3 separate regions of the Homo sapiens genome follow, and regions 1 and 2 are each linked to region 3. Evidence: promoter capture Hi-C in 16 types of primary human blood cells and fetal thymus (Javierre and others, 2016). All regions are on one chromosome and are shown on one strand. Each heading gives the region's core, a stretch centred on a gene start or on the middle of the fragment in contact. The rest is flanking DNA. Distances are from core to core; before and after follow the strand shown. Region 1 has its middle 57 kb from the start of CLDN10-AS1. Region 2 overlaps LOC124903193 (a long non-coding RNA gene). Region 3 holds the start of TGDS (TDP-glucose 4,6-dehydratase).

What was found. The method cuts DNA at HindIII sites, captures the fragments that hold promoters and counts their contacts. A CHiCAGO score of 5 or more calls a contact.
Region 1: a fragment that was not itself captured here is called in contact with the fragment with the promoter of TGDS in region 3 in 1 of 17 cell types (naive CD8 T cells); the score reaches 6.2 in naive CD8 T cells.
Region 2: a fragment that was not itself captured here is called in contact with the fragment with the promoter of TGDS in region 3 in 1 of 17 cell types (non-activated CD4 T cells); the score reaches 5.5 in non-activated CD4 T cells.

Annotation. Positions count from the first base shown.
Region 1 is chr13:95,475,439-95,478,138 of GRCh38, forward strand. It overlaps a transcript of CLDN10 not described here. Among named protein-coding and RNA genes, the nearest start is that of CLDN10-AS1, 57 kb to the right of the region's middle. The HindIII fragment of the contact is 4,663 bases long and covers 1-2,700 here.
Region 2 is chr13:95,390,387-95,393,086 of GRCh38, forward strand. The region is part of intron 1 of LOC124903193 (a long non-coding RNA gene); the gene reads right to left. Among named protein-coding and RNA genes, the nearest start is that of ABCC4, 90 kb to the left of the region's middle. The HindIII fragment of the contact is 5,449 bases long and covers 1-2,700 here.
Region 3 is chr13:94,594,852-94,597,551 of GRCh38, forward strand. It overlaps TGDS (TDP-glucose 4,6-dehydratase), which reads right to left and starts at 1,301. Exons shown (of 12, transcript NM_014305.4): 1 at 1,200-1,301. The coding sequence starts at 1,285. RefSeq lists an enhancer at 1,165-1,474. The HindIII fragment of the contact is 5,991 bases long and covers 1-2,700 here.

The sequences.
Region 1 (2,700 bases), core at 24-2,523, 880 kb after region 3:
TCAGATGCCCCAGCCAATTCTCGGAGACAGAGAGAGCCAGGAGTTTTGCCAGCCCACCTCAGCTGTGCTGACTGAGCACTGGCCACCAGTGGGCTTCTCTGCTGCTCCCCAAGGGAGGGAAGTGGCCAGCAGGGTTTGAAAGAGTTTCAGTGCTGTTTGCCCCAATGGCCTCTGGGCCCCTGGTGAGGGTGACTGGCTTGGAGCTCCAGGAAGGTGGCAAGGGCTCCATTCCCACCTCATCCTCCAGCTGCCTTTCTCTGGGTGGCGTCTCAGTGAAGCCAGCCTGGGGTCTATCCTCATGTGCTCTCATGATCCCAAGCCCACCTGCATGGGTCGAGGGTCCCTGCATCTCTCTCTCTCTCTCTGTCTCTCTCTGTCCCTCTCTCTCCCTCTTTCCCTCTCTCTCTCTCTCTCCCTCACCCTCTCTCCCTGTCGGGACTTGAGCACCATGGCTCTGCTGTGATGAGCACCATGGCTCTGCTGTGATGTGACTTATGATTGATGCTGCCCCTGAGCGTGCTGGGTGGTCTTCTATGCTTGTCACAAATCTCTGCCATCTAATTCCACCCCCATCGCCCAGATTGCTTCCTTCCGTGTGCCACTCCCCTTCTGGGCACTTGTGGTGATAGGACATATGAGGGGAGGAGCTGGTTTGGGAGGCGCAAAGGCATGATAAACTCGATTTTGAATGTGTCAAATATGACTTACAGGCAGGTTGACAGGATAGAGATGGATTGTCGGCATTTGGTTAGACGTGTGTGGAGCTCAAGAGGGGAGCCTGAGCTGGTGTCTTAGTCTGTTCAGGCTGCTATAACAAAATGCCTTAGATCGGGTAACTCATAGACAACAGAAATGTATTTCCCACGGTTCTGGAGGGTGGGAAGTAAGTCCAAGGTCAAGGTGCTGATGGATTTGGTGTCCGGTGAGGGCTGCTTTCTGATTCACAGGTGAGTCTTCTCTCTGTGTCCTCACGTGGTGGCAGAAGTGAGGCAGCTCTCCGGAGCCTTCTGTATAAGGGCACTAATCCCATTAATGGGGGCTCCACCCTCAAGATCTAATCACCTCCCGAAGGCCCCACCTCCCAACGCCATCACCTTGGGCATTTGGATTTCAACGTGTGAATTTTGGAGGGACACAGATATTCAGACCATAGCAGCTGTGGGTGAAGATTCAAAGACTCAGAAACAGATGGGACCTCCCAGGCAGTGTGTGAAGGGCAAGGCTGGAACCCTGAACACCAGTGACAAGTAGGAGATGGAGAGAGAAAGGAGGATGCTACCATGTGGATGAAAAGGGGCTTTAACACATATTGCTCAGGTGGCCTCACTATGAAATAACAGGACAGATGAAGTCACTGAGTCTCGGGGGCACCTTCACAATCTCTCACAGCTGTTAGTGGCAGAGCCAGGTCTCCAAGTTCAGAATTTTTCTCCCTACATTTGTTCACTTATTCATTCAACAGTCACTGATTGTGCTCTTTTCTGTGTGTGTACAGGGTCTTGTGTTCATACCATGAGCAGCATAGCAGGGACCCAAGCAAGACTGGGAGGAGAGGCGGGATGCAGACAAGTTGGGAACCAGCCACGCCTCTCCTCCTAGCAGGGGAGTTGCTCTAATAGGTTTTAATTTTATTCAGCTTTGGTGAGGCCAATAGATCAGATGATGACTCTCACTGAAGAGAGAGTTTCTTACTCTCAGATCTAAGAGAAGTGGGCACGCCACGCCATGCAGGGACACCCGGGGCAGCACGAGGGCTGGTCAAGAGGCAGAGGGAGAAGAGAACGTGGCCAGAGCCCTTATTATGGTTTCCACAGGAAAGAGTGGGCAAGGCAGGGTTAGCTAGCTCAGGACTGGCTAGTTTAAATCATTTCAGCAGGCTCTGGGGCATACAGGCTGTTCCTATTTGTCAGATACCTGGTCCTGGGTGATTAGGGCAGGGGGATAGTGGCCTGGAGTGTGAGAGCCAGATAAGGGAATTGGTTGGGATGCGAGCTCTGGGTTGGTTTTCATTTGAAAAGCATATCACCCGGAGGACTCCTTCCAGGGGGAGGGGGACAGTGAGGGAGACATATTATTGGGTTGCACAGAGCAAGGTGTGTCCTGCAGATGCACGCGGGGCAGATGTTAAAGCATCAGGTTTACAGAAAGGAGAAACATGGTTAATACAGAAGCAGAAAAGGAATGCAAAACAGAGAACAACTGCAAAGGTGCACATGCGGAAACACAGGTTGATGTCCTGCCAACCCTACTGTGGATGGTCTGTGGACCAGCAGCACCTGGGACTTAGAGAGGCAGCGTCTCAACCCCTCACCCCAGACTGAACGAATCTGAATCTGCAACACCCTCAGGTAACCCATATGTATCTTAAGCCATGATAAGTACTGGCATCAGCTGCAGACAGGCCCGTGGACAGATGGAGGAGGAGGAGGAAAACGTGTGGTTCGTTAGGGAGGCTTCTTGGAGGAGTCCTCTAACAATGAAAGCCAGCTTTCATGTGAAAAGAAATGAGATCTTTTGCCTAAAACAGTGGTTCTCAAAATTGGCTGCAAATTGGAATCACCTGTTGTGTTTTAAAAAGCTCTGGAGGCCAGGCACAGTGGCTCATGCCTATAATTCCAGCACTTTGGGAGGCTGAGGCTGGCAGATCACTTGAGTCAGAAGTTCAAGACCAGCCTGGCCAACATGGCAAAACACCATATC
Region 2 (2,700 bases), core at 102-2,601, 800 kb after region 3:
CATGTGCCTCCTCTCTGCCTTCATCTTCACATGGGCATTTTCTTCCTGTTTCATTGCATCACCTTCTGTCCGTGTGTGTTGGGTTCAAATTTCCCTTTTCTTACATGGATACCATATAACCTGTTAGTGTGGATATGTAAATGTGGAAAAAGGAAAAAGCTCAGAAAAAAGTCAGGGGGTTGGTATAATATGCCACAATGCCCAGCTCTTTTTTTTTTTTTCTGTAGACGGGGTCTTATTATGTTGCCCAGGCTAGTCTCGAACTAATGGGCTCAAGAAATCTCTCCTTGGCCTCCCAAAATGTTGGGATTACAGAGGTAAGCCACCATGCCTGGCCTCTCCCTTTCCTTATTGCAAAATGATCCCAGCTCTCCTAATGCTCAGATCATCAACTACACCCTCCTCTCCCCTTCCGCCTTCTGTATCAAGCAGCTTCCCAGACACTGTCCCCGATCACTGAAAAGTACACTCCTGACTGCCTTTCTGCCCCAATTTCTGCTACTATTTACATGCCAGCCCCACCTTTCCTTAGCCATCTCATCAATAGCAACCTTTTCTGTCACTCCATCTATCTCAGCCACCCAATGCCATTGCCAAACCCTGGATCTTGTCATCACCAGAAAGTGTGCCACCTCAGAAATCTCAAAGTCAGACATTTCCTTCTCCATCCCATCTCCTATCCTTCCAATTTATTTGCTCCAGGATACCTACAAGAACAATTCTTTTTAATTTTTTTATTTCATTTTATTTTTTGAGATGGAGTCTCGCTCTGTTGCCAGGCTGGAGTGCAATGGCACAATCTCAGCTCACTGCAACCTCTGCCTTCCAGGTACAAGCAATTCTCCTGCCTCAGCCTCCTGAGTAGCTGGGACTACAGGCACTCGCCACCACGCCCAGCTAATTTTTGTATTTTTAGTAGAGATGGGGTTTCACCATGTTGGCCAGGATGGTCTCGATCTCTTGACCTTGTGATCCACCCACCTCAGCCTCCCAAAGTGCTGGGATTACAGGCATGAGCTACTGTGCCTGGGTACCCACAGGGACAATTCTTGGGCCTCATTGAGATGTCTCTTCATTAATCCATCATCTCATTCTACAGTGTCCAGCCAGGATTTTGCAACCCAGAGTTATAATCACTCCCTGGCAAACACTCTCAACTTCCTCTCTTTCCCTCTGGAAGAAAAACCCAATTCTACGTAACAGCAACTCCACTGTGTCCACGCCTGCAGATGAACTTTAATGAAAAATTCACCCATCTGGGCAGACTGATCTTATTTAGAAACACAGTCATAAACTTTACATGGGCTTTAAGTAGCCAGAAATTGTACAATGCTTCACTAATAAGTTCACTCTCCCACTCCCTAAAGTAATTCTCTCAGGCCTTTTCTTCTCTCCTCAAGCCTTCACATGCACCCCCATCCCCTTCCTCCCTTATCCTGATGTCTGCAATTCACATTGTAAAACTCCCATATGATCAATGTGATGTTATGCATGTGCCTGTCAGCTTAAACTTCATTCTAAGTGTGGTTAGTAACATGCCATCTTGCACAGTCAAGGGGCCCAGACCTGGTTGTGGTGGGCATGAGGAGCGCTGACGGGATGTGGTGGAGAGAGGGAGGCATGCAGGCACCAAGACACACACCACCTGGTCCCCAGAAGCTGGCATAGCCTCAGGACCTCCAAACCCTGCTGGAGTCATCAGACTCCTGTGCTGCTGATGTTCACATTGGAGTGGATCCATCCATCACCTGGAGAATTTTTATTCTTGGCCTTCCCATCTTCACTCCCTCCCTTACCCCCACTCCCTCCATGTGTTGCTCTGTATGGCCTTCCTACTGATCATGGTTTAGGTCAACCACGGAAGGCATAGACCCATGTCTCTGCAGATCAATGAAGGTTGTATCCTTTTCCTGTGGCTGCTGTAGGAAAATACCAAACACTTGGATGGCTTAAAACAACAGAGACCAGCCTGGGTAACATGGCAAAACCCTGTCTCTACAAAAAATACAAATAAAAACTAGCCAGGTGTGGTGGCATTTACCTGTAGTCCCATCTACTTGGGAGGCTGAGGTGTCAGGATTGCTTGAGCCTGGGAGGTGGAGGTTGCAATGAGCTGAGACCAGGCCACTGCACTCCAGCCTGAGTATCAGAGCAAGGCACTGTCTCAAACAAAAGAAACAACAGAGAATTATCTCCCATTTCTGGGGGCTAAAAGCCTGAGCTCAAGGTGTCAGCAGGACGACACTTTCTCTAAAATCTACAGGGGAGGTCCTTGCGTCTCCTGGTTTCTAGCATCTCTCTGTTTCTTAGATTGTAGATGCCTCATTCCAGTCTCTGCTTTCATCTTCACTTGGGCATCTTCTTCCTGTTCCATTGTATCATCTTCCCTGTGTGTATCTAGGTCCAAAGTTCCCTCTTATAGGGATACCAAGCATACTGGATTAGGCACCTCCCTACTCCAGTTGCATTAGTCTGTTCTCACATCGCTATAAAGAAATACCTGAGACTGGGTAATTTATTTATTTACTTACTTTTTTTTTTTTTGAGACAGAATCTTGCTCTGTTGCCCAGGCTGGAGTGCAGTGGTGCAATCAGGGCTCACTGCCATCTCCACCTCCCAGGTTCAAGTGATTCTCGTGTCTCAGACTCCTGAGTAGCTGGAATTACAGGCATGCACCACCATGCCTGGCTAATTTTTGT
Region 3 (2,700 bases), core at 51-2,550:
TCCTTGAGGGGAGGATAGGAGAGTTTCCTGTTTATTACTCTTGCATTCATCCATTCCACAATTACTAAAGACTTATATAGAATGGGCCAGGCATTCTTCCAGGTGCTGAATGAACAGTAGTCTCTGTCCTTACCGAGTTTGCATTTTAGAGTGGGGATACAAGCAATAAACAAGCAGACACAAATCCGCAATATAATTTCAGGTAGAGGTTAAGTGTGCTAGTTGGGAGAGGGGCTATTTTAGATATGGTGGTCAGGTAAGAACTCTCTGAGGTGCTATCTGAATAAAAACCAGAATTGAGTGGTGCAAACAGCCTAAGGAAAGGGGAAGCAAGTGCAAAGGCCTCAAGACAGAAGTGTGTATCTTGGTGTGTTCCAAGAACTAAGAGGGGAAGCATGGCAGGTACAGAAAAGCAGATCAGGTTGCAAAAGTAGGGCTTGGGCACTTGAGTTTTCTAGATATGGTAGAGTTTGGGCTTTATTCTTAAGTGTGGCAGGAACCACTGAAGTAAAATCCTGCTTCTACCATGATCTGATTGACTTAAGAAACACTGACTTGTATGTGAGCAACAGGCTTTAAAGGAACATGAGTGGACGCAGTTATGGCCAACCAAGAGGCTACAGCAGCAGTCGAGGCAAAAGATGACAGTAAACATGGGCTAGGGTGGAAACGGGAAACTGGTGAGAAGTGGTCGCCGTAAGGATATACTTTGGAAGTAGAGAGGACTTGCTGCTCGAATGTGGGTCTGAGGAAGAAAAGGGTGTCAACAGTGGATTTGTAAAAGTTTGCTGATTACATAGATGTCCTATTATAGTCCTTAAATCGTTTTGGGGGTGCCTATATGTACAGGGCCCATCGTGGGGTGTGGGTGCTCTAGGCTGGAGGTGGGAAGCAGTCGGTGAGCAGCTTAGGGTAACTTGCACGCACTCAAGGAGTGACATGGTGAGCACCTCCGGCCACAGAAGGGCGGAGAGTAACGCAGCTTTGGAAGAGGCGTTTTAAAGAAGTCAGTTTCAAAGGAACCACTTCTTTGCAGGCCAGAGAGAGAAAAGCTGGTCCAGGTCGTGCATTAGGACCCTCCCCATATCAGAATAAGGACCCCTCAAAGCTGGACCCAAATTACCTAGGGCAAGCAGAGCTGCGGGAAAAGGTAGGGGTTTCTGGGGAGCCACTGCTTGGCTAGCGGCGCCATTACCTACATGAAACCAGCACCGCCGGTCACCAGGACCCGCTTCGCAAAGCCGCCGGGAAGACCCCACGGTTCCTCCCAACACGCCGCCGACATCTCCCAGCTCAGCAGTGCCTAGTACCGTAAAGAGTATGGTCTGAAAAGCGCAGGGAAGTTCCGCCGCGACCTTTTGCGACGCGCCTCGCTCGCGGGACACGTTAACAGAGCAGCCAGAGGCAGCTTCCGGAGACTGCTCTGTGGCCAGTTTCTGCCCGCCCACTAGCGGGCTGGGCGGGGCCGCGCTCACCACGCGCAGGCGCTGCTCCTTTCCGCCCTTGCCTGGTCCGCCAGGTGCAATTGGGGTCGCCCGGATGGTAGGGGTATGGAACGTTTTTCCCGGAAATGCCACCACTATGGATCAGATTTATGAATGAGTACCTTTTTTCATTCTTGTACTACAGCCATCTCTAGAGGTTACCTATCAGTTGAGCTGAGAACGGGGAGTTGTTGCAGATGGAGATGGGAGGTTGCAATTTAAAAATGATTTTTTTTTTTAGTGGGGCGGGGACAGGGTCTCCCTCTGTTACCCAGGCTGGAGTGCAGTGGTGCGATCACGGCTCACTGCAGCGTCGACCAATGGGGCTCAAGCAATCCTCCCACCTCAGCCTCCTGAGTAGCTAGGAATACAGTCGTGCGCCACCACGCCCGCCTAATTTTTGGTAGAGATGGGTTTCGCCCTGTTGTCCAGGCTGGTCTCGAACTCCTGGGATCTAGCCAACCTCCCGCCTCAGCCTCCCAAGGTCCTGGGATTACAGGCGTGAGCACCGTGCCTGGCCTGCAAAATGATCTTTTGCTGTTGTTAATATTATTTCAGGCCGGGCGCCGTGGCTTACGCCTGTAATCCCAGGACTTTGGGAGGCCGAGGTGGGCGGATCACCTGAGGTCAGGATTCGAGACCAGCTTGGCCAACATGGTGAAACCCTGTCTCTACTAAAAATACAAAAATTAGCCGGGCGTGGTGGCGGGCGCCTGTAATCCCAGCTACTTGGGAGGCCGAGGCAGGAGAATTGCTTGAACCCGGAAGGCAGAGGTTGCAGTGAGCCGAGACCGCACCATCGCACTCCAGCCTGGGCAACAACAGCAAAACTCCGTCTCAAAAAATAATAATATTATTATTACAGACAGCGCAGAAGGCTTGCAATCATGATAAAGATATTCCCTAGGTCCTACGCTGATGTCTTATTCTATTCTCTCCTTTGCTCACTCCGCCCCAGCCTCCCCACCCTCCTTGCTCTTCATTCAATGTGCCAGGCATGCTACTTCCCCGGGACCTTGATTGTCTTTCCCCAGATGTCTGCCTAGTTTTTACCCTTACTTCCGTTTTCAGCTTGAATGGCATCCTATTGACCACCACAATTAAAATAGCGAGCTCTGCCCAACCCTGCCGAATCATCTTATCCTTCTTTATTTTTCTTCCTAGCACTCAACATTTACATTGATGTCACTGCCCTCTGTTTAGTGTTCCATGAGGT